Linked DNA regions of Homo sapiens: all the other regions are linked to region 1. The links are contacts of gene promoters, found by promoter capture Hi-C in blood cells and fetal thymus (Javierre and others, 2016). All regions are on one chromosome and are shown on one strand. Each heading gives the region's core, a stretch centred on a gene start or on the middle of the fragment in contact. The rest is flanking DNA. Distances are from core to core; before and after follow the strand shown.

Region 1 (3,396 bases), core at 541-3,040:
GGTCTTTTTTGACAGCTTCCTCTCTTCTCCATTACAGGAACATGTTTTTGCAGTTGTGCGACCCAAAGAGGCCATTTCAAGCTGCCCCATCAGATGTGGAGCGCTGATGTGTAAGTATTACTTTAATATCCATGACATGGCTGGGTAGACAAGAGACTCCCAGGAAAGACCGAAATCACAGAACACGATTATGGGCAATCTGGGCTCCTGGGGACCTTTAGGGCACGCCATCTCGTACTGATGAAGGATCACTGATTTATCAGATGTTACCCTGCTTAAACAGAAGCAGCCTATTAGCGCAGCTCACACCATTCCTAGAATCAAACATATCCAACCCACCCCCCTCATTTTACAGAGAAAAATCAATTGAGAACCGCAGATCTTATTCCTAGAAAGCTGATGAACCCTGTTTCTCTCGCAATGGGAAGACCTGGCTGCCCCAGGCTGCATCCCCACCTGCCACAGGGGCTGGCGCTCGCTCTGCAGTTGGCCGCAGTCCCCTCCACTCTTCTCTCCAAATAGGCTCGGGTCTTTAACCTAGACTACCCCACTGGCCCCGAAGCATTTTTTTTTTTTTTTAGATAGGGTCTACCTCTGTCGCCCAGGCTGGAGTGTGGAGTGCGGTGGCGCGATCTCGGCTCACTGCAACCTCCGTCTCCTGGGGGCATGCGATTCTCCTGCCTTAGCCTCCTGAGTAGCTGGGACTACAGGCGCGCACCACCACACCTGGCTAGTTTTTGTATTTTTAGTAGAGATGGGATTTCGCCATGTTGGGCAGGCTGGTCTCGAACTCCTGACCTCAAGTGATCCACCCATCTCGGCCTCCCAAAGTGCTGGGATTACAGGTGTCCGCCACCACGCCCGGCTAATTTTTGTACTTTTAGCAGAGATGAGGTTTTGCCATGTTGGCCAGGCTGGTCTCGAACTCCTGACCTCTGGTGATCCACCCGCTTTGACCTCCCTAAGTGCTGGGATTACAGGCGCGAGACACCGGGCCCGGCCCCCCGCCGAAGCATTTTTAACTGCGGTGCCGGCTTTAAAAAAACTTTTAGGTCAAGAAATGCGCTCCAGAAGCTCGGCGAGGGTAGGCTGGGCAGGCGCCTTCCGTCACCGGCGCAGCGGTAGCGGCAGCGGACATCCCCGCCTGGGCAGGCCCAGGTCCGCGGAAGCCTCGGGGCCCTGGCCCCACTGTGTCACACACCGCCCGGGGCCGGGCCCCTGCACGCCCGCGGGCTTCGGCGTCCGTACCGGTACAGCGGGCGGCGACACCTACCTCGCGGGACCGTGCCCAGCACCCGGCCTGGCACACAGCGGGCACCCGGTCGGGGGGCGGTGTCGCGCAGTCCCAGCGAAAAGGCTGCAGGAGCAATGACAACAGGGGCGGAAGCCCCCTCCCCACGCAGCCCGAGGGGCCGCGGCGGCCACCCGCGCCGGGCCCCAGGACCCCGCACCTCAGACTGGGGTCGCGTGGGTGGCTGCGCGCAGCTAGGCGCTCGCGCATGCGCACCGCCATCCAGGCCACGGAATGAGGCCAGAGGTTAGATGGGTTGAACCACTACGGGAAGGGGAGGGGAAGCTTTGGGAGGAGTGATGGAGGGTGGAAAGCGGAAGAAAAAAGCAAGATGGGACCGCAAGCTGGACGTGACTGTAAGGGGTCATGGCTGCGGAATCCAGCAGGGGCATTGGGGTTGACGTGCACTCAGCGCCGAGCTTCTTCGTAGTTCCTCACCCCCTTGGCTACTATGGGCTGGTCCGGAAGGTCAGGCAAGGGGAAGCTGCGCAGGCGCAGTGTGAGCGGCAACATGGCGTCCAGGTCTAAGCGGCGTGCCGTGGAAAGTGGGGTTCCGCAGCCGCCGGATCCCCCAGTCCAGCGCGACGAGGAAGAGGAAAAAGAAGTCGAAAATGAGGATGAAGACGATGATGACAGTGACAAGGAAAAGGATGAAGAGGACGAGGTCATTGACGAGGTGAGAAGGACACGCTCCCCTAGTTGGTTTATACCTGAGAAAAACTTTTTGGCAAGCCCAGGCTGTGTAAAAATAGTGTAGGGTCTTCCCTGACCCTGAGGGTCTGTGAGGAGAAACTGGAGATAAGTTCTTTCTCAGGTTTCTCCTCGGTCTTTAACACACTGCAGCCATAGTAGTTATTTTTTAAAGGTCTAGTCCGGTCCAGTTAATCTCCCAACCCGCGTCCTCCCCGAAAAAGCCCGCCACAACAGGTGTGTTCTTCTCGTCCTCTTTAGTTCTCAGGCTGAAGCCTCAGATCCTGAATCGGCCACCCCGGGCTCGCAGAGGGGGCCCTCTCCCCTCGGGGCAGCAGCTGTCCTCCTCTTCACTCTGCGGGCGGCACTCACTTGGGCCCTCAGTTTCTTGAAGGCTCTTGCCGCGTTCTACCGTAGAAGCCTTTTCAAATGCTCTTCTTTATCCTGCAGTTTTCCCTTCCTTCTTCAGATCTCAGCTAGGCTGTATTTTCTGGCTCCTGGGGCAGCTGACCAAGTCGTGGGTAAATCTTTGGTTTCATAGTCTCATAGAACTGTGTTCCTTTCTTCAGACTAGGTCCTACCGTAGTGCCTGGCAATATAGGTACTTATTATTTGTTTAGTAAACAATTAGGACTGAATGATCCTTCAGCCTACTGAATGTTTAAATAGATACCTCAGCCTTAACTTGTCCAAAGCAGAATTTGTATAATAATTCATGCCCCTCTCTTAATCGTCACCATTTCTATAAATGGCCCCTAAAGTCACCAGCTGCTCTAACCCAAAACCTGGGGCTTAACTTTAATTCCTCCCTTTCCTCATCCTATATCCAGCCCATCAGTAAATCCTGTTATCCAGACATTTCTCAGCACTAATTCTGAGACCATCGTAGTCCACACCTCTATCATCTCTTGCCTGGACTACTATTTAATGTAACAGCTTTTAACCGGCGTTCTTTTCTCCATTTTTGTTCCCCTACAATCAGTCTATACTCCACTTACAGTCAGAGAGATCTTATAGGTCTGATCTCAGGCCTCTGCTTAGATTGCTGCATTGGCTTTCTAGTTCATTTACAAGAAAATCAAGAGTCTTCACAATTGAGGGACGGAAAGGCAGCCTAGATGGCTGGATCAGAATAAGGAAGAGAGAGTGATAGGAAATAAAATCAGAGAGGTAATCATGAGTCATGATGAGCATGGAGGGGAGCATGGAGAGAAGCATGGATGCAGGATTAGAGGTGACACCATGGTGTGGGTATGTGATCAATCTTCCTTCCCTTACAAATTTTACTTTGGCTCTATGCCTTGAATGCCATCTCACCATTTTTCACTTAGAACTTTGACTGGCTCTTTTATTACTTTTGGGTTATAGAAATCAATGCTGCTTGTGTTAACATGGGAAATCTATCACACCACCAC
Region 2 (3,396 bases), core at 538-3,037, 5.0 Mb before region 1:
TATCTTTTGTAGTCATACTCCTATTCACCATTCTCAACTACTCATACATGCCCTGCTCTTGTTTACACTGCCGGTTTACACTGTTTCTCCAAGCCATCACAGCTGATATCTCCTGGTGCTATCCCCAAACTGCCACTCTAAACTCTTGAAGTAAATAAATAATCTTTGCTGGCAGGACTATGCTGAATCTCCTTAGGCACTCTCTAATCAGATGTCCTATGTCCTCCCAATTCTTAGACCTTTTATACCTGTTTTTCTCCTTCTCTTATTCCATTTAGTTTCTCAATTCATCCAAAACCGTATCCAGGCCGTCACCAATCATTCTATACGACAAATGTTTCTTCTTACATCCCCACAATATCACCCCTTACCACAAGACCTCCCTTCAGCTTAATCTCTCCCACTGTAGGTTCCCACGCCACCCCTAATCCCACTTGAAGCAGCCCTGAGAAACATCACCCATTCTCTCTCCATACCACCCCCCAAAAATTTTCGCCGCCTCAACACTTCAACACTATTTTGTTTTGTCTTATTAATATAAGAAGGCAGGAATGTCACGCCTCTGAGCCCAGGCCAGGCCATCGCATCCCGTGACTTGCATGTATACATCCAGATGGCCTAAAGTAACTGAAGATCCACAAAAGAAGTACAAACAGCCTTAACTGATGACATTCAACCACTGTGATTTGTTCCTGCCCCACCCTAACTGATCAATGTACTTTGTAATCTCCCCCACCCTTAAGAAGGTTCTTTGTAATTCTCCCCACCCTTGAGAATGTACTTTGTGAGATCCACCCCTGCCCACCAGAGAACAACCCCCTTTGACTAATTTTCCATTACCTTCCCAAATCCTATAAAACAGCCCCACCCCTATCTCCCTTCGCTGACTCTTTTCGGACTTAGCCCACCTGCACCCATGTGAAATAAACAGCTTTATTGCTCACATAAAGCCTGTTTGGTGGTCTCTTCACACGGACGCGCATGAAACTAACAATGTATTGGGGAGAGAAACACACATCTGCAAATATCATTGCTGAAAAGAAATCATTGCATTAAGTGCTATAGTTAAAGCGTATAAACCCAACACTGAACACAAAGGAGGGAAGGACTGGGTCTGACCTGGAGAGCAGCAGAGGAGAAAGTGCGAAATGAAAGGTACCCAGCAACAGACAAAGGGTCACACTTGGCCCCAGACATAGTGCTTCTTCCTCAAGTGCGAAGGGAGTATTGCAAACACCAGATATGCAGTGTTATCTGTATTTGGAAATTGTTTATATTCAGGCCATTCACTTCATTCAGTCTGGCAATTTCATTCAATTAATCTCATTCATTTCTTAATTAATCTCATTCATTATTCTCTGTAAACTCCACGAGAGCGGAGACTTTGTGTCTTCTTCATCGGTAGATCCCCCATGCCTACTGGCACTAGTAGTTGCCCTAAATTCACTTATCAAAGGCAGCAAGAATAACTGGGACTCTTCTCTCTTGCTTTTCACGATTTCCAGCAGGGCACAAAGGCCTACAGTCCCCACCTGAAAAAAACAGACTTGACTGGAGGCAGCGCCTCTTCTTCCAAATACAGCCCCAGCTGACGCAGATTAGCACAACCGCCTAAGCGGCGGAACTCTGGAGAGTGCGGAACCTAGGATCCTAGGAAACTGAAGGCAACGGAACCTGGGGGCGATGGAATCCGGGAGCGGTGGAACCCGGAGCCTGTAGAACTTGAATCTAGAGGAACCTGACAGCGGCGCCGAGGGGGCCACCCGGACTCTGTTTGGAACGGAAGCACAGTGTCCGCCGCTTCCTGGTTGCGGGTCAGCGCCCAGGTCCTGGGCTGGCCGCCGGGATGTTGCCCTACACAGTGAACTTCAAGGTGTCGGCGCGCACCCTCACGGGGGCCCTCAACGCCCACAACAAGGCGGCGGTGGACTGGTGAGGACGCCGAGCTTCCAGGTCGCCAGGATCGGCCAGGAATGTGTGAGGGGGAAGGGGGAAGGACAAGAGGTTTCACCCCCTGGTTAGTTTGGCCTCGCTAAGGCAGGGAGCCGCCCTCACGCAATGAGCTTGCTTTCAGTTGGTGGATTTTTGTTGTTACAAAAGTGATAATAGCCCCGTGTGGGAAATTCCCCCATGCAAATACATTTCCCCTCTTTCTCGCGTATTTCTCTGCTGTTTTCTCTGCACCTCGCCCTTTTGCCGTTCCATTCCTCTCTCTTTTCCTCTCCTCCAGCTTCCAGGCTTCTCTCTCTCCACCATTAATTCCCTGTGCACTTTCTCTTTCCCATCCTGTCTTTTCTTTTTCGTTGTCTTGTATTCCTGTTGTCTTTCAACAATGTGCCAGACCCTGTGCTAGGCGCCTGTTCTTTCACCTGTCCTTTTCACCTCTTTTCGGGCTCCTCCTGTGTAGAACATTCCTGCCTTCAACAGGTCGTCTTTATTACTCTCTCCTTTCACTATAAATTACTACTGCAGCTCTGAAAACTACTCATTAGACAAATGTAAAGCAAAATTCTGTGGCTGTGGGATGTTGTTAGGAGGACTGAAACGTCTTGTGCAGTGTTTGTCGTTTTATTTAGTTGGAAGGACTAGGATTAGTCGCAGTATCCCCAGGCACATTGTGGATACTAAGGATTAGAAATCGGATAAGCGAAAGACGTATGCCTACAAGAACAGTCAGAGGGCACAAGTTCCTTTTTATGTCCTCGGGTCTCTATTTTCATATCTTTTAGAACTTTTTTTATCCGAATGAAAAGTGAATTTCAACAAGCATTTTAAGCTTAGCCAGATCTTTTATTTAAGTGGGATAATGATAAATACTGGCCTTTGGGTTTAAATGATTTTATTAATGGTGGTACATATGAATTAGACTTATCATTTATTTAGGCTTGGCAAGAAAGAAGTCGTCCTGCTTTGTTCTGTACTTAAACTTTAACATTACTGTTTTGCTAGGGGCTGGCAAGGTTTAATTGCTTATGGATGTCATTCACTTGTGGTAGTGATTGATTCCATTACTGCCCAAACTCTTCAAGTTTTAGAAAAGCATAAAGCTGATGTTGTAAAGGTAAGTAAAATCCCACTTTGACGCTAACATGTTGTCTAGTCTAAAGTTTAATACTGTGTATCACTAAGCTCTCATTAAGTCTTACGTGTAAGTGTTGAATAGCTTTTAAATATAACAACCTATTTGGGGTAGCCTAGAATTTTCATATATATGACTTAATGTCAATACAGGGTGAGTTATTAAATGCTAGTTGTTAGATCATTTTAAGGCAGATGAAAGTTCTACCATTTACAAGACCACTCAGTCATTCCTTAGTTTTGAGCACTTACCATATGCTATGGATATGGAGATGAAAGCCCTCAGATAATTCTCCATCTTATAAGGAAGACTCACAG
Region 3 (3,396 bases), core at 513-3,012, 4.3 Mb after region 1:
TTGTGTTGATGTAATAATTTTAAATCTACTTTCCAAATCATCGCTTCTCCAATTTTAAAATTTGACATGAATTGAAATTTTTTTCTTTTAAGTAGTTGAATCAGATATTTACATAAGTTGCTGAAATCTCAGCTGGTTTGTACAATGGGGTTATTAATATCCATTTGCAGAGTAAGCAGGTTTAGTATATGATATGTTTAATAAGCAGTAGCTGGTATCTGCAGATGAATGTAGTAGCAGAATACTATAATAATTGAAAAACAACTATTTGCTGATGAAGAGCTGAAGTTTATTACATTGTCTAAAGTTACATTAGTCAGGATTTGAATGTGGTTTTTGTCTGATGGTTTTTCTCCAACAATGCTCCAGGCATATGGGGCTATCCATTAAGATGGAAAGAATACTGTAACATGTAATCCAAAAGGGGATAACGTTTATATTTGTTTCAGATATAGTATGTCCTTATAATATTGGACATTATGTGCTTAATTGAGAAATGGAAGGTAAGCATTAAATAGGAGAATATTGTGGATAATTTCAACTAACAATATCATGTTTTAATGTTTTCAAATGTTTTATATTTTTGTTTCATCTTCTCAACATCCCAGAGTGTTGGTTATTGCTGTTTTACAGATGTGGAAGTTAAATTACTCTTCAAAACCATGTTAGTAATAATGAAACTGAAATGAATTCAGTTTCTATGGCATACTTTCTTCTTTTCTTTTTTACTTATTTGGGCTCATACTATTATAAAGTTTGGTAACCTACTTTAATTTTTGAAAAATGTAGTTATATTAGTATTTTCCTGTGGCGTTGAAAGTTCTTTGAAAATTTGATTTGTAATGGCTTTATGTTTTCTTATGACCATTTAAAAACTATTATTGAGCATCAGAAATTTTTCTGATTTGCTACGTAAAGTAGTGGGAAAATATCCATGTACAGAAAATCTTTGTCTCTTAATTACTTCCTTAGGATTGATACTTATGTGTAAGAAATTTCTGAAAGGTCCCAATTTAATTTTTACCAGCAGGACATGAAAGTACTTCTCGTCATCCTTTTTATCATTGAATATTATGATTTAAACAGTCCTTTTGTTGGCTGGGCACGGTGGCTCATGACTGTAATCCCAGCACTTTGAGAGGCGAATGCAGGCAGATTGATTGCTTGAGCCCAGGAGTTTGAGACCAGCCTGGTCATTGGCCAAAGCCCAACTTTACAAAGAACAAAATATGCCTGTAGTCTGGGAGGCTGAGGTGGGAGGATCACCTGAGCCCAGGAAGTCGAGGCTGCACTTGCCTTGCACTCCAGACTGGGCATTAGAGTAAGACCCTGTCTCAAAAAAAGAAAAAAAAAATTTTTTTTTTGGTCAATTTGGTGGAAAATGGTATCCCAGCTTTAAAAAGAAATTGAAGTATTACATACAGTAACAATGCACAGATCTTAATCGTCAGATGTGGTGAATTTTCACAATTGTATACACACCGATAACCACCATTCACAGGAAGAATATAGAACCCAGGAAGTTTTCCATCCCCTTTAGCCCAGCTACTGATTTCTTACTGTCACTGTAGATGAGTTTTCCCTGCTCTTGGACTTTGTGTGAGTAGAATCATACAGTTCTTTGTCTGTGTTATCTTTTGCTCACATATTTTCAAGCTTCATTTGTGTCATTGCTCATGTCTGTGGTTGGTTCCTTTTTACTGGTAAGTTACATTCTGTTGTATGAATGTCTATCACTTTCTCCTGTTGGCGGACATTTGGCTAATTTCCAGTTTTGATTTATTATGTATAGGGCTGCTGTGAGCATTCTTGCATGAGGCCTCTGTGAACCTCTGTTTTGTTCTTGCCATCCTTAGGCAATGGACAAAAAAGCTTCCCTGGATCCTCTTCATTGCTGGAGGCTATGGTGGGCAGAGGCTCCTGAGGGAGGGTTTTGAGGGGTCAGGCCTGTGTTCTAGTTTTAGGGCCAGAATTCAGTTCCAGGGCCCCAGACAACTGCAAGGAAGACTGAAAAATGTAATCTAGCTGAATGCACAGGAGGAAGATGAAACAGTGCTTGATTGAAACAGCACAGTCTCTGCCGTGGACCTGAGGCCCCACCTACTCAACCATTGAAGCTGCTGAGTTGTGCTGGATGCAAATTAACATCCGGTGACTAGGGGCTCCTACAATGTGTCCTTCCCTGCCTTAGGTGGGTCTTCATTTGGAGCTTCCTGCTTTCCTTGTGTGCCTGTGGACACTCTCCCTTCATCAGTCCTACCAGTGGTCTTGCCCTCTGTTTTCCTATGCTTTGATAAATGACCTTGCTTCCCACCTGAGAGAAAACAGGATTTCAGGTAGCATCTCCCCAAGCCCTCCTTCCACTCTCACCTCTCCCAACACTTACCATTTATTTGTAGCCTTACCCATTCTTAATTCCTTGGCTCCTGACTCAGAGGAGACTGCCTTCTTCTTCTTCAAGGTAAGCTCTTCTCTGCTCTGGATTTCCCCTCTCCTGCCTCTTCTGAGTCCTTGCATCCTCAGCTGTCTTGTGTCTACGGCCCTTCCCTCTCCATTTGCACTATCCCCTAGTAAAATAAACATATAAGGATTTTCTTGTATTAAAAAGGCCCATCCCTTGATTTTGTCTTTTTCTCTGCCTGTACAGATCTCTTAGAGTACATCTCTGCTTCCTCATCTTCACTTCAGTCCTCAGTGGACTGCAGTCTGACCTGTGCTTCTGCTATTCCATTGAAGGTACTCTCTCTGTTAGTTGCCCTTTCCTGTTGCATTGGATGATTGTCACTCCCTCTTGACACTCTTCTCTTGACTTCTATGTGACCCTTCAATCTTCCAGTACCGCCTAGGACCCCTTAATCTTCCAGTACCGCCTAGGACCCCTTCTCTGCTTTACTACATAAGTTCCTTCTCCTCCATCTGTCCTAACTTAATGTTGATAAGCCCCCTGAGGCGCTGACCTCGGGTCTCCTCTGTGTCCCTCTGTAACCCTTTGCGGTGTGGTGCTGGCACTGTTCCTTTCTTGATTCCCAAATCTGTATATCAGGTGCAGACTTCTTCCCTGAGCTCTAGACATCATACTAACAACCCATTAAACTTCCTTTCCTCAGGTTGGCAGCTTCTGCACTATGATTTGAGGCATAGTGCCACCACTAGCCATCAGTCTCTAAGCCAGAACTTGGAGCCAGCTGTAGACTGCCTTATCTGTCACCAAATCCTGCCCCTTCTACCTTCGAAATCCTCATGCTGCTCTTTGCTTCTGCTTTCCTGACACTTTATTGTAGGCTTATTCTCTTCTCGCTGGTATTATTTGATCAGTTTTTACAGTTTGTTATTCCTTTCCTTACCCATAGGTTAGTTGTCCTTGGTTCTTTTTGCCATGGAACATATTTCTGTTCG
Region 4 (3,396 bases), core at 505-3,004, 3.9 Mb before region 1:
AAGTGTAAGTGGCAGATTAAATTTAAGCCCTCTTCCTTCCAATTAATTTTTTTTTCAACTTTTATTTTAGATTCAGGGGGTATAGGTACAGGCTGGTGACCTGGATATATTGCATGATGCTGAGGTTTGCAATATGGATGATCCCACCACCCAGGTACTGATCGTCATACCAAGTTGGTTTTTCAACCCTTAGCTCACGCCCTCCCTCCTCCTCTAGTAGTCTCCAGCTTCTACTTTTGCCATCTTTATGTCTGAGTACCCAAGGTTTAGCTCCCACTTATAAGTGAGTGAGGTGGGAAATTAAAGAAAAATAAAATTAAAAAGAAAGATAAATAAGCTTTCCTGTATTAGGCCGACTTGTCCCAGAGGCAGCAACAGGCACGGCCCAGACCCAGGAAAAGCCTTGATAATATTATCTAGTGTGCTCTGGAGATTCTCCCAGCACTCAACATGCAGAGAAGAAAAAATAAATTTTCCTTTGTTTTACGGAATGAGTTCATAGATTCCTGTTCTCTGTAACTAGTGACTTCAAGTATTGTTTTATCTGAGAAGTACAATGAATGTCATGAGAAGCCTGAGTAGGCCTGAACTGCAGCTGCCTGGGCACCATAGTGAAGATTATGGGATAAGCCCAGGCAAACCTAGATAACGGACATCTGGGTTGCTTGGCAACGGTCATGTGCAATCCTGAGTTTGTCCTGCCTCTGTATCCCTGCTTTCACGCCACTGTAAGCTTGCTTCAAGCTAGCCCACCCCCTTCTGTGAACTGTGTATAAAAGTCTTTGTTCCGGGCCCAGTCTTTTAGACGTTGAGTCAGCTGGGCCTAAGTGCACTCAATAAAGTTTCTCCTGTTTTAACCCGAGGTCTCTCTTGTCCTCCTGAATCCCACAACATGAGAACGTGAACCTACCAAGTAATTTATAGGAGCCTGTAGCATTGCTTGAACACAAGCACTGTGTCAAGCAATACACCAGAATGCAGAAAATTCTAAGCTAAGTCCTATAATATTTAATATCCAAAAGTAATGTGAATATTTACCAACATTTTCCCAATATTTCATGGCATTCATTGACAAGATTGCTAAATTAAGAGGGTATTTTTTTCACATATTTATATCTGAACCAATCAAACAATATTACTAAAACCTACTGATCAGCACATAAATACAGCATCAGTATGAAGAAAAGACATAACTCATTTACTTTTCCTTTTAAAGGACATCTACCTAGAGCGGAAATAAACATTAAAAAAGCACAAGAGACTACTAAAATATTATACACAATCTTCATACTATAAATCCTCTTTCTACTAATTAAAATTCTTACCTTATTGTGTACTGAGGACAACATGTTTGATTCATGACAGGTTTGTACACATATTTTCCACTTCTAAAATTATAAAAATAGTTTGTTAATGTCTTATATATTTTTCACTTGCACCAAAACAGCCTAGCACAGGAGCATTAAATTAAGGTTAAAAATCTAATCAACATTGTAGAAATGCATGTAGGTTTAATTACTCTTCATAAGCCAAATAATCTTCAAAGTGCGTGTAGCAAAGTTTAGAACCCTGCCTTTTATTTCCTAAAGCTTTACTTGTGTACCCCACGGCCAATCATCTCAGTTCCCCTCTCACCAGCATCTGCCACCCCTGCTCTGCCTTCACCTGCCACCAATCCCCAATACCACAAGGGCAATGAGAGAAATGCCCACGATGCTGTGGGACTCATGTATGTGATGCCTGTGACAACCACACTTGGGTATTCCACATGCACCAGCACGGAGTACCCCAAAACTAACCCGCTTCTTTCCATGCATTCCAGGTCTATGGTACTAACAGAACTGTTCATTCTGTTCTCAAGTCAGAGACCTGGGAGTCATTTTAAACTCCTCCCTGGAATTCACCTCTATATCCTATTAGCAAGCTTTCCTTCATTTTAAACCCTATCCTAAATTGTCCCCTCTTCTCTATCACCATTGCCACTAAGGTGACAGTCCTCATCATCGCACATCTGGATAGCGCAATAACCTTTGAACTCATCTTCCTGCCTCTATGACCCCCCCTCAAATACCTCTCAGCCATCTGAACAATCTTTTCTAAAACAAATTCCTTCACATTTCTCTCTTACCATAAAATCCTTCCATGACTGCCTTCTAAAAAGTTCTGGCCAGGCATGGTGGTTCATACCTATAATCCCAACACTTTGAAAAGCTAAGCTGGAAGAACACTTGCAACCAGATGTTCGAGACCAGCACGGGCAACATAGCCAAGATCTTACAAAAAACTGAAAAATTAGCCAGGTGTTGTGATGCACACCTGTAGTCCTAGCCACTGCAGAGGCTGAGGCAAGAGGATCACTTGAGTGTGGGAATTTGGGGTTACAGTGAGCTATGATGATGGCACTGTACTCTAGCCTGGGCAAGAGAGCGACTCTAGCCTGGGCAACAGAGCGAGACCATGTCTCTAAAAAAAAAAGTTCCTTATCATGGCATGTGAAGTCCTTTAAAATCTGACCTATGTCTACCTTTTGAATCTCATTAAGTTTAAGGAAAGTTGTGATATTTCAGCTGGTGCTCCCAATCCCACGTCTTTGGCAAGTATTAGCGTACAGTATTTAATATTACTTATATTTACACAAGGAACTTTACCTAAGAGTTACTTAAAAATCATCCACATAAAAATAACTACTCAAAACAGGCCATGTGTGGACTTTAAGGAAATCCTTATCCAAATAAACTGTTAAAGAAGACATTTTTGAGACAATCTGGAAAATCTAATAAAAAGTAGGTAACAGGTAACATCAAAGAATTTTTATTAATTTTGTAAGGTGTGATACAGCATTGTGGATAAGTTAAAAAGAAAAAAAGACCTCTCTCTTAGAGATACATACTTATTGCCTATCTATTGATAGGATAAATGTCATAATAACCTACTGATGTAATTTGCTGTTAAATATTAAAAGGTGGAGCAGGAGAATCAAACATGATTGGCAGAACGTTAATAACTGCTGAAGCTTAGTGATAGGTACTTGAGGTTCATTCTAATGTACTCTCTGCTTTTATAGATATTTGACATTTTCCTAACAAAGTTTTTTAAAAAGGAGACAAAAAATCACTACATAAAAGAATATAATAAAAATTTTTCTTAAACCTCTTTCCAACAGGAAAGCATTTCAAAGGCATGCTGTATTTTTCAAGAACCTGAGTAACAGTAGGAAGTCTCTTTGTATCTGGAAGCTTTACCTTCGCCATCCTCGGTCTATGAGATCCTGATAATCCTGTACTGTCATGGAATGTGCCCACATGCCTGAAAAAATAAGTAGTGTGTTAATTACGGCAGGGTAACCTTTTTTCTTTTTTAAATTCAAAGTGTGAGGTTTAAAAATAGGAGTGTGTG
Region 5 (3,396 bases), core at 509-3,008, 3.6 Mb after region 1:
GGAAGAGTGTCCTCTGCTCCCTCCGAAGGCTCCAGGGAAGGGTCTGTCCTCTTAGGCTTCTGGTGGCTTGCAGGTGCAGCCCTCCAATCCTCCTCCCCAAGCGGCCTTCTGCCTATAAGGACACGAGTCATACTGGATGAGGGGCCCACTAATTGATGGCTTCTGTAAAGTCCCCATCTCCAAATAAGGTCACATTGTGAGGTACTGGGAGTTAGGACTCCAACATAGCTTCTCTGGTGGACACAATTCAACTCCTAATAACGTCCACACAACCCCAAGCAGGGCCTGGCACCCTGTGTGCTCTCTGGAGAGCGGCTGAGTCAGGCTCTGGCAGTGTCTAGGCCATCGGTGACTGCAGCCCCTGGACGGCATCGCCCACCACAGGCCCTGGAGGCTGCCCCCACGGCCCCCTGACAGGGTCTCTGCTGGTCTGGGGGTCCCTGACTAGGGGAGCGGCACCAGGAGGGGAGAGACTCGCGCTCCGGGCTCAGCGTAGCCGCCCCGAGCAGGACCGGGATTCTCACTAAGCGGGCGCCGTCCTACGACCCCCGCGCGCTTTCAGGACCACTCGGGCACGTGGCAGGTCGCTTGCACGCCCGCGGACTATCCCTGTGACAGGAAAAGGTACGGGCCATTTGGCAAACTAAGGCACAGAGCCTCAGGCGGAAGCTGGGAAGGCGCCGCCCGGCTTGTACCGGCCGAAGGGCCATCCGGGTCAGGCGCACAGGGCAGCGGCGCTGCCGGAGGACCAGGGCCGGCGTGCCGGCGTCCAGCGAGGATGCGCAGACTGCCTCAGGCCCGGCGCCGCCGCACAGGGCATGCGCCGACCCGGTCGGGCGGGAACACCCCGCCCCTCCCGGGCTCCGCCCCAGCTCCGCCCCCGCGCGCCCCGGCCCCGCCCCCGCGCGCTCTCTTGCTTTTCTCAGGTCCTCGGCTCCGCCCCGCTCTAGACCCCGCCCCACGCCGCCATCCCCGTGCCCCTCGGCCCCGCCCCCGCGCCCCGGATATGCTGGGACAGCCCGCGCCCCTAGAACGCTTTGCGTCCCGACGCCCGCAGGTCCTCGCGGTGCGCACCGTTTGCGACTTGGTGAGTGTCTGGGTCGCCTCGCTCCCGGAAGAGTGCGGAGCTCTCCCTCGGGACGGTGGCAGCCTCGAGTGGTCCTGCAGGCGCCCTCACTTCGCCGTCGGGTGTGGGGCCGCCCTGACCCCCACCCATCCCGGGCGAGCTCCAGGTGCGCCCCAAGTGCCTCCCAGGTGTTGCCCAGCCTTTCCCCGGGCCTGGGGTTCCTGGACTAGGCTGCGCTGCAGTGACTGTGGACTGGCGTGTGGCGGGGGTCGTGGCAGCCCCTGCCTTACCTCTAGGTGCCAGCCCCAGGCCCGGGCCCCGGGTTCTTCCTACCCTTCCATGCTGCCAGCTTTCCCTCCGCCAGCTGCTCCAGGAAGCTTCCAGAAGCCCCTGCGCGGGCCTTGGCTTGCAGCAACCCTTTAGCATACTTAGGCAGAGTCCCATATTTCCTTCCTGCTGGAGGCCAAGTTCTAGGGGCCTTCTGGTTACTATGGCTGGTGTTTGTGTACATCATACCCTAACTGTATTCATCAACACTTAGAGTAAGCAAGGCTCGCTGGAGAGCCACACACACTGGGCACCGTAATGTCGGTTATAACACCGCAGAGGAGTTCTGAACTATGTATTTCGCACTCCTGGGTTCATCATCTCCTGAAATCTCAGGGTGGTGTTTGCTCTCAGTTGCTTCAGCTGAGTAGCTGGCTTTCTGTCCTGGAAAGCAGACTTTGTACATGTGTGTGCAACCTATGCCTGCTGAGATCATCATCAGACAGGGAAGCGGCTTGGTCCAGAGAGCTGTTCTCAGTAGAATGTTAAGCACAGAGAGCTGAGAATTAGACTGGTTATTTACATAGACATCCAAATAGAAACCTATAGAGTATCTGTTAAGTCAGGCTCTCCCGTCATCTCCCCCATCCCTGGGCAGGTGTCTAGGAGATGGTTTTGTTATTTTCAGGGCCCTCTCAATGGCTAAAACACTCTGGGAGATGAACAAGATTTTAAAAACCCAAAGCTTAGCGCACCTGGTGGGTGGGGGTGTGAAAACTTTGAAGGAAACCGCGTCAAGAGCCTGGCTGATTGTTAATATCACGTTAACTCAGAGGGCCAGGATACTTGCCCAGACCCGGAGTCTGCCTGCAAGTAGCAGAGGAGAGCTGGCCTTGCTCTGCCGCGTGTCTTTCTTCCTGGGCCCTCTGTCTCGGGTTGGAATTTGAATAGTGGAGTAGTGTCTGCCACAGTCAGGGGCCTGGATGAAGTAGACCACCAGTACGGAGCTATACTCAGGTACTTTTCAATGTATATATCTTCATTAAAAAAAAAAAATCTGGGCCAGGCACAGTGGGTCACGCCTGTAATCTCAGCACTTTGGGAGGCCGAGGTGGGTGGATCACCTGAAGTCAGGAGTTTGAGACCAGCCTGGCCAACATGGTGAAACCCAGTTTCTACTAAAAACACAAAAATTATCCAGGCGTGGTGGTGCATGCTGGTAATCCCAGTTACTTGGGAGACTGAGGCAGGAGAATTGCTTGAACCTGGGAGGCGGAGGTTGCAGTGAGCCGAGATTGCGCCATTGCACTCCAACCTGGGCGACGAGAGTGAAACTGTCCTGAAGGGGAAACAAAAAAATCTGTATCAAAATAAGGATTTAACTAATAGTATTAGGCACTACTTTAAAAAGGCTTTGCTGTTAGTAAGGTTGAAAGAAATAGAGCCCTAGGTATACATTGGGTAGCACCTTGTTCAGCTGCTCAGATTCTTGAACCTTGTTGAGGTCTTACTTTGATATCACCTGGGCCTTACTTTTCGTTGTTTGGGTTTCCTCCCCAGGTGTCTCAATCAGGGCCTCCTCTGTCCTTTTGCAGGGAAGAAGGGGGTAGGAAGGGCCTGAAAAAGAACTTGCCTTCCCCATTGCCCCCTCAGAGTTTGTTCCTCTCCAGTCCTCTTCCCACCCTTTCTTAGGACACCAAAACCCTGACTCTTTCAGTATTTTATAATAAAATAAAGTTACTAAATTGTCTGTTCTGTTTTGCAGAGGACACACATTTAGGAGCCAGTGATTCAGACCTTCCATTTTTCTTTTTGGTGCTAATGCTCTTTTCAGTATATTCTCTTTGATAGAAAAAAAATGGAGGCAAAACTGAATTTTCTGCATTATCTTTTCCTTTAGCATTATTCTTGTTTCTGCACTTCATTCTGACCCCCTTCCCCAGCATAAAGTTCCATGTCCAGATCCACTTGCCCTGAGATTTTTGACTTCCGTTTGGGACTCTAGTCCCTCCAGGGGACACATTGAGCCTCCCAGACCCTGCAGGGCCCTGTGCTCATTCGGC
Region 6 (3,396 bases), core at 306-2,805, 3.4 Mb before region 1:
TATATAATATAAATATATGTGTATACACACCGCGCGGGCGCGCGCAGAGCTTCCAATCTTTATCTTGTTAATTAGTATTTTCATTGTCGCTTTGGGAGGGGGGAAAGTAGCAGGTTTGTATCTTTTTTTCTCCCCAGTTTTAGCAGTGTAACAAAATAGGAAAGATGGTGTGTAAAATTGAGTTTGTCATAGACTAGGAGAGACAGTGAAACAGGATAAGTATACAATTGTGAGGAAACTGCCATGAGTTCATAAGCCGGAAGGACCTTTTTAGAAGTGTTTAAGGATGTTAAGAATAGCATTGGATTCTTTTCTTTAAAAGTCATTCAAGTATCGTTTGCTAACATATAGGATATGACAATATTGACCACTCCTAGGAAGATACTTGGGAAAGGTGGAAACATTTTACATTTTTATGGGGACTTCCCCCCACAAAAAACATTTAATGGAGATTTAAACAAAGTGGCTTTTTGACTTAAGCCTGGAAGTTCTTTATTATTATTAGTCATGCTGCAAATCCCGAAGTTATTTTAATTGTGTGATAATTTGTAACCCAGAATGAAATCTAATAAATAGTTTATTAATATAATTTAAGTCATACTTTGACATTGACATATTGCTTGATGTCAAGTCATTATTGTTTAAATAACTTATTTGAGAATGGGGAAGATAGTTTTCTGAATATAGTGTAGTAATTATTTGTGACAATAGTAACATTGCTTTTATTAGAAAATTTTGGGTTGATATAACTAACTGCCTTAAAGTATTTCCTATTTGATTCCAACTGTGAGCTGAGGTAATATGCAAATAATTACTTTTCTCATGCTGGAGCAGTTTACTTTTGTTAATATTAAAATTTAAATTTCAAGATTAAAAAATCTTGTTTTAGATCTGCAATGATACAATAAAATGACTTCAATAGGAGTTAAATATTAAGATTTGGTTTTAGGTTTTTTGACCATTTGTGAGTACACATCCAGCATTTAAGAATTTATTGACATGGTGTCTGAAAGGAATGCTTTCAGAAAGGGCAGAAAACTTGGTAGCTTTAGATGATTGTTTATAATGCTTAATTATTTTTAGAAACATAAAAATATGGGATGTTTTTATGTAAACATAAAGCATCCTGTTATTTGTTATAGCACTAGAACTCTCTTACACTTACTGAGCAATATTAAACCATTTGACCCTAAGTAACTTTTTTTCTTGTGGGTACTGTCTAATAAGGGATATGTGAGTTTGTGATTCCTAGAAGATGCTTAAGCAAACATATGTTTGCTATTTATTTTAGTAAGCCTTTTAATTAGTTGAATTGATAATATTCAGGAAGATAGGGTTTTTGGGATTTTATAAGCTTTCTTTGAACTGGAATTTCTGTTGGATATAAAAGAAAATTAGTCATTTAAGATTTTTTTAAGTTAAATAAGTTTTAGAGCAAAATATTGTTTCCTACATGGAACTCTTACCAGGCTTGTCAGTCTGATAGCTTTATTCTCCAGAAAGTTGTGGTTTTTAGCCCTTTAGGCAGCCTAGCCTTTTATGGTTTAACCATTGAACTCTAGATTCTGGATTGAATTTAACCTCTTGAAGGAAAAGACGATCACAGGCACTAGAATTGGAAGTGATGTCAGAGGGCTTCTAATGTAGCATCTTACCCGGTACAGTAAATCCCTCCTGAGAATTTCCATGTCAGGTGTTCCCTCCCATTATTAAGGATGAGAATGCTATTGCATATGTCATCAGGTTATTCAGCAGTCCAAGCTTACTGAGAACAAACACAAGAGTTTTAATGAGTTTTAATTTTCACTATTCACTGCCTTTAACTGTATTTTGTAGGCTCTTTCCCACCCCCCTGTCCCCCACCCCCCATAACATCATGGGTAAATGATAGCTTTTCTGTCATTTACAGTTATCAAAAAGCTCTAGGCTGGGCTCAGTGGCTCATGCCTGTAATCCCAGCACTTCAGAAAGCCGAGGTGGGAGGATAGCTTGAGCCCAGGAGTTTGAGACCAGCCTGGGCAACATGACGAAACCTTGTCTCTACAGAAAATAGAAAAATCAGCCGGGCGTGGTGGCATGTGCCTGTAGTCCCAGCTAGTTGGGAGGCTGTTGTAGGAGGATCCCTTGAGCCTGGGAGGCAGAGGTTCCAGTGAACAGAGACTGTGCTGTGGCACTCCAGCCTGGGTGACAGGAGAGTGAGACCCTGTCTCCAAAAAAAAAAAAAAAACAGAAAAACAAAAACAAAAAATTGCAGTCTATTCCAGTTTGAACATTCAATCTCATATATATTCAATTTAAAGGTTTTTTTTCCCTTCCTTACCCTGTGGTCAGGCCACTTACTTACTGAAGCACTTGGGGTATGGACGGCTTGTGGTAAGCTCCTGGGATACTTCTTTCCTTTCCCTCTTAAGGGATCTATTTGGATACAAATGTGTCAAGAAGAGAAGTAGAAAAAGACAAGTGTTTGTTATCTGGTGCTATTAGAGTCCTCTCTTGATTAACAGTGGCAGGCCATTGCAGTCTACTAATAGGCAACCAAACTGGCATTTTTGGTGAGATCTTGCAGGGAGACTCCTGCTGCACAGTTTCTGGGTATGAAATTTTCTGTAGCTAAACCTTTTCCAACCTACACACCCATCTGCTTGCTCCCATCCTGTCAGTTTACCCACTGGTTACGTGAATGTGTGTGAGTCGGGGTGGAGATCTTTTCTCTCTGCAGCGAGATATTTTGATAATGGCAAAACAACTTCAATCCAGGTACGCTGTGGTTTCTATTCAACCCACTGGAAACTCACTTCCTTGTGATGTCGAATAGTGGCATACAGACTACTTAAGTCTGCCTTCTTTCTGTGCCCTGCCATTTCTCATCAATTCTCTTTGTCCCCCTTTTCAAGTAGACACATGGGGTCAGTCACTCAGTCTGCTGCATAAGCAGATGTGGAACTGGAGAATGGGATGCAAGTCTGTTCTAGGCTCCTCTGATCTTCATGAGTGATTTCTGTTAGAGGCCCCTGCCACTGTTTTGGTGAAGACCTCCTTCTTTTCCCTGCGTTCTCCCTGAAGACTTACAGTTCTTTCCCTCTCTTCTGTCAACTGCTCTTGCAGAGTGGAAGGATGGTGCTGATTAGGGTGCCAGAGCCATGCCTGACTCTACAGATATTTGATCCTCTATGTCTATATATCCTCAGCTTTGTGTTTGTCAGTGATTGTGGGGCAACAGGACTAGTCCCACTCGACATGTTTTAACAAATAATAGTGAAGTCTTGTGGGCCTGTTGAGGTCTCACTGTACAGAATTTAATTTTTCTTTGCTTTTTCTTATATCACTCAGGCTGTTTCTGTGTTTTGCCTTATTTTTTGGCTTCCTGGTTCCTGACTGATGAGGTGTTAACTGTAA

What was found. The method cuts DNA at HindIII sites, captures the fragments that hold promoters and counts their contacts. A CHiCAGO score of 5 or more calls a contact.
Region 2: the fragment with the promoter of WDR11 here is called in contact with the fragment with the promoter of BCCIP in region 1 in 1 of 17 cell types (total B cells); the score reaches 8.3 in total B cells.
Region 3: a fragment that was not itself captured here is called in contact with the fragment with the promoter of BCCIP in region 1 in 2 of 17 cell types (total CD4 T cells and total B cells); the score reaches 7.1 in total CD4 T cells.
Region 4: a fragment that was not itself captured here is called in contact with the fragment with the promoter of BCCIP in region 1 in 3 of 17 cell types (fetal thymus, total CD8 T cells and total CD4 T cells); the score reaches 6.8 in fetal thymus.
Region 5: a fragment that was not itself captured here is called in contact with the fragment with the promoter of BCCIP in region 1 in 2 of 17 cell types (naive CD8 T cells and activated CD4 T cells); the score reaches 8.1 in naive CD8 T cells.
Region 6: a contact is called between a fragment that was not itself captured here and the fragment with the promoter of BCCIP in region 1, in 1 of 17 cell types (total B cells). The highest score is 5.0, in total B cells.

The regions. Positions count from the first base shown.
Region 1 is chr10:125,821,756-125,825,151 of GRCh38, forward strand. It overlaps BCCIP (BRCA2 and CDKN1A interacting protein), which reads left to right and starts at 1,791. Exons shown (of 7, transcript NM_078468.3): 1 at 1,791-1,967. The coding sequence starts at 1,803. UROS (uroporphyrinogen III synthase) reads right to left here and starts at 1,503. Exons shown (of 10, transcript NM_000375.3): 1 at 1,274-1,503. RefSeq lists silencers at 1,150-1,579, 2,336-2,555 and enhancers at 1,431-2,116, 1,660-1,859. The HindIII fragment of the contact is 3,281 bases long and covers 1,575-3,396 here.
Region 2 is chr10:120,849,575-120,852,970 of GRCh38, forward strand. It overlaps WDR11 (WD repeat domain 11), which reads left to right and starts at 1,788. Exons shown (of 29, transcript NM_018117.12): 1 at 1,788-1,932; 2 at 2,950-3,061. The coding sequence starts at 1,847. It overlaps WDR11-DT (WDR11 divergent transcript), which reads right to left and starts at 1,605. Exons shown (of 3, transcript NR_033850.1): 1 at 1,120-1,605. RefSeq lists enhancers at 1,430-1,974, 1,453-1,572, 1,733-2,202, 1,975-2,518, 2,213-2,272. The HindIII fragment of the contact is 6,223 bases long and covers 1-2,774 here.
Region 3 is chr10:130,139,959-130,143,354 of GRCh38, forward strand. All of the region lies in intron 1 of GLRX3 (glutaredoxin 3), which reads left to right. Among named protein-coding and RNA genes, the nearest start is that of GLRX3, 5.3 kb to the left of the region's middle. RefSeq lists enhancers at 1,736-1,785, 1,796-1,865, 1,886-1,945. The HindIII fragment of the contact is 216 bases long and covers 1,655-1,870 here.
Region 4 is chr10:121,921,024-121,924,419 of GRCh38, forward strand. ATE1 (arginyltransferase 1) reads right to left here. Exons shown (of 12, transcript NM_001001976.3): 2 at 3,243-3,306; 3 at 1,326-1,388. Among named protein-coding and RNA genes, the nearest start is that of ATE1, 5.3 kb to the right of the region's middle. The HindIII fragment of the contact is 335 bases long and covers 1,588-1,922 here.
Region 5 is chr10:129,466,210-129,469,605 of GRCh38, forward strand. MGMT (O-6-methylguanine-DNA methyltransferase) reads left to right here and starts at 1,032. Exons shown (of 5, transcript NM_002412.5): 1 at 1,032-1,087. RefSeq lists silencers at 672-1,111, 1,132-1,331 and an enhancer at 898-1,820. The HindIII fragment of the contact is 635 bases long and covers 1,442-2,076 here.
Region 6 is chr10:122,376,529-122,379,924 of GRCh38, forward strand. All of the region lies in intron 1 of PLEKHA1 (pleckstrin homology domain containing A1), which reads left to right. Among named protein-coding and RNA genes, the nearest start is that of PLEKHA1, 3.5 kb to the left of the region's middle. The HindIII fragment of the contact is 407 bases long and covers 1,353-1,759 here.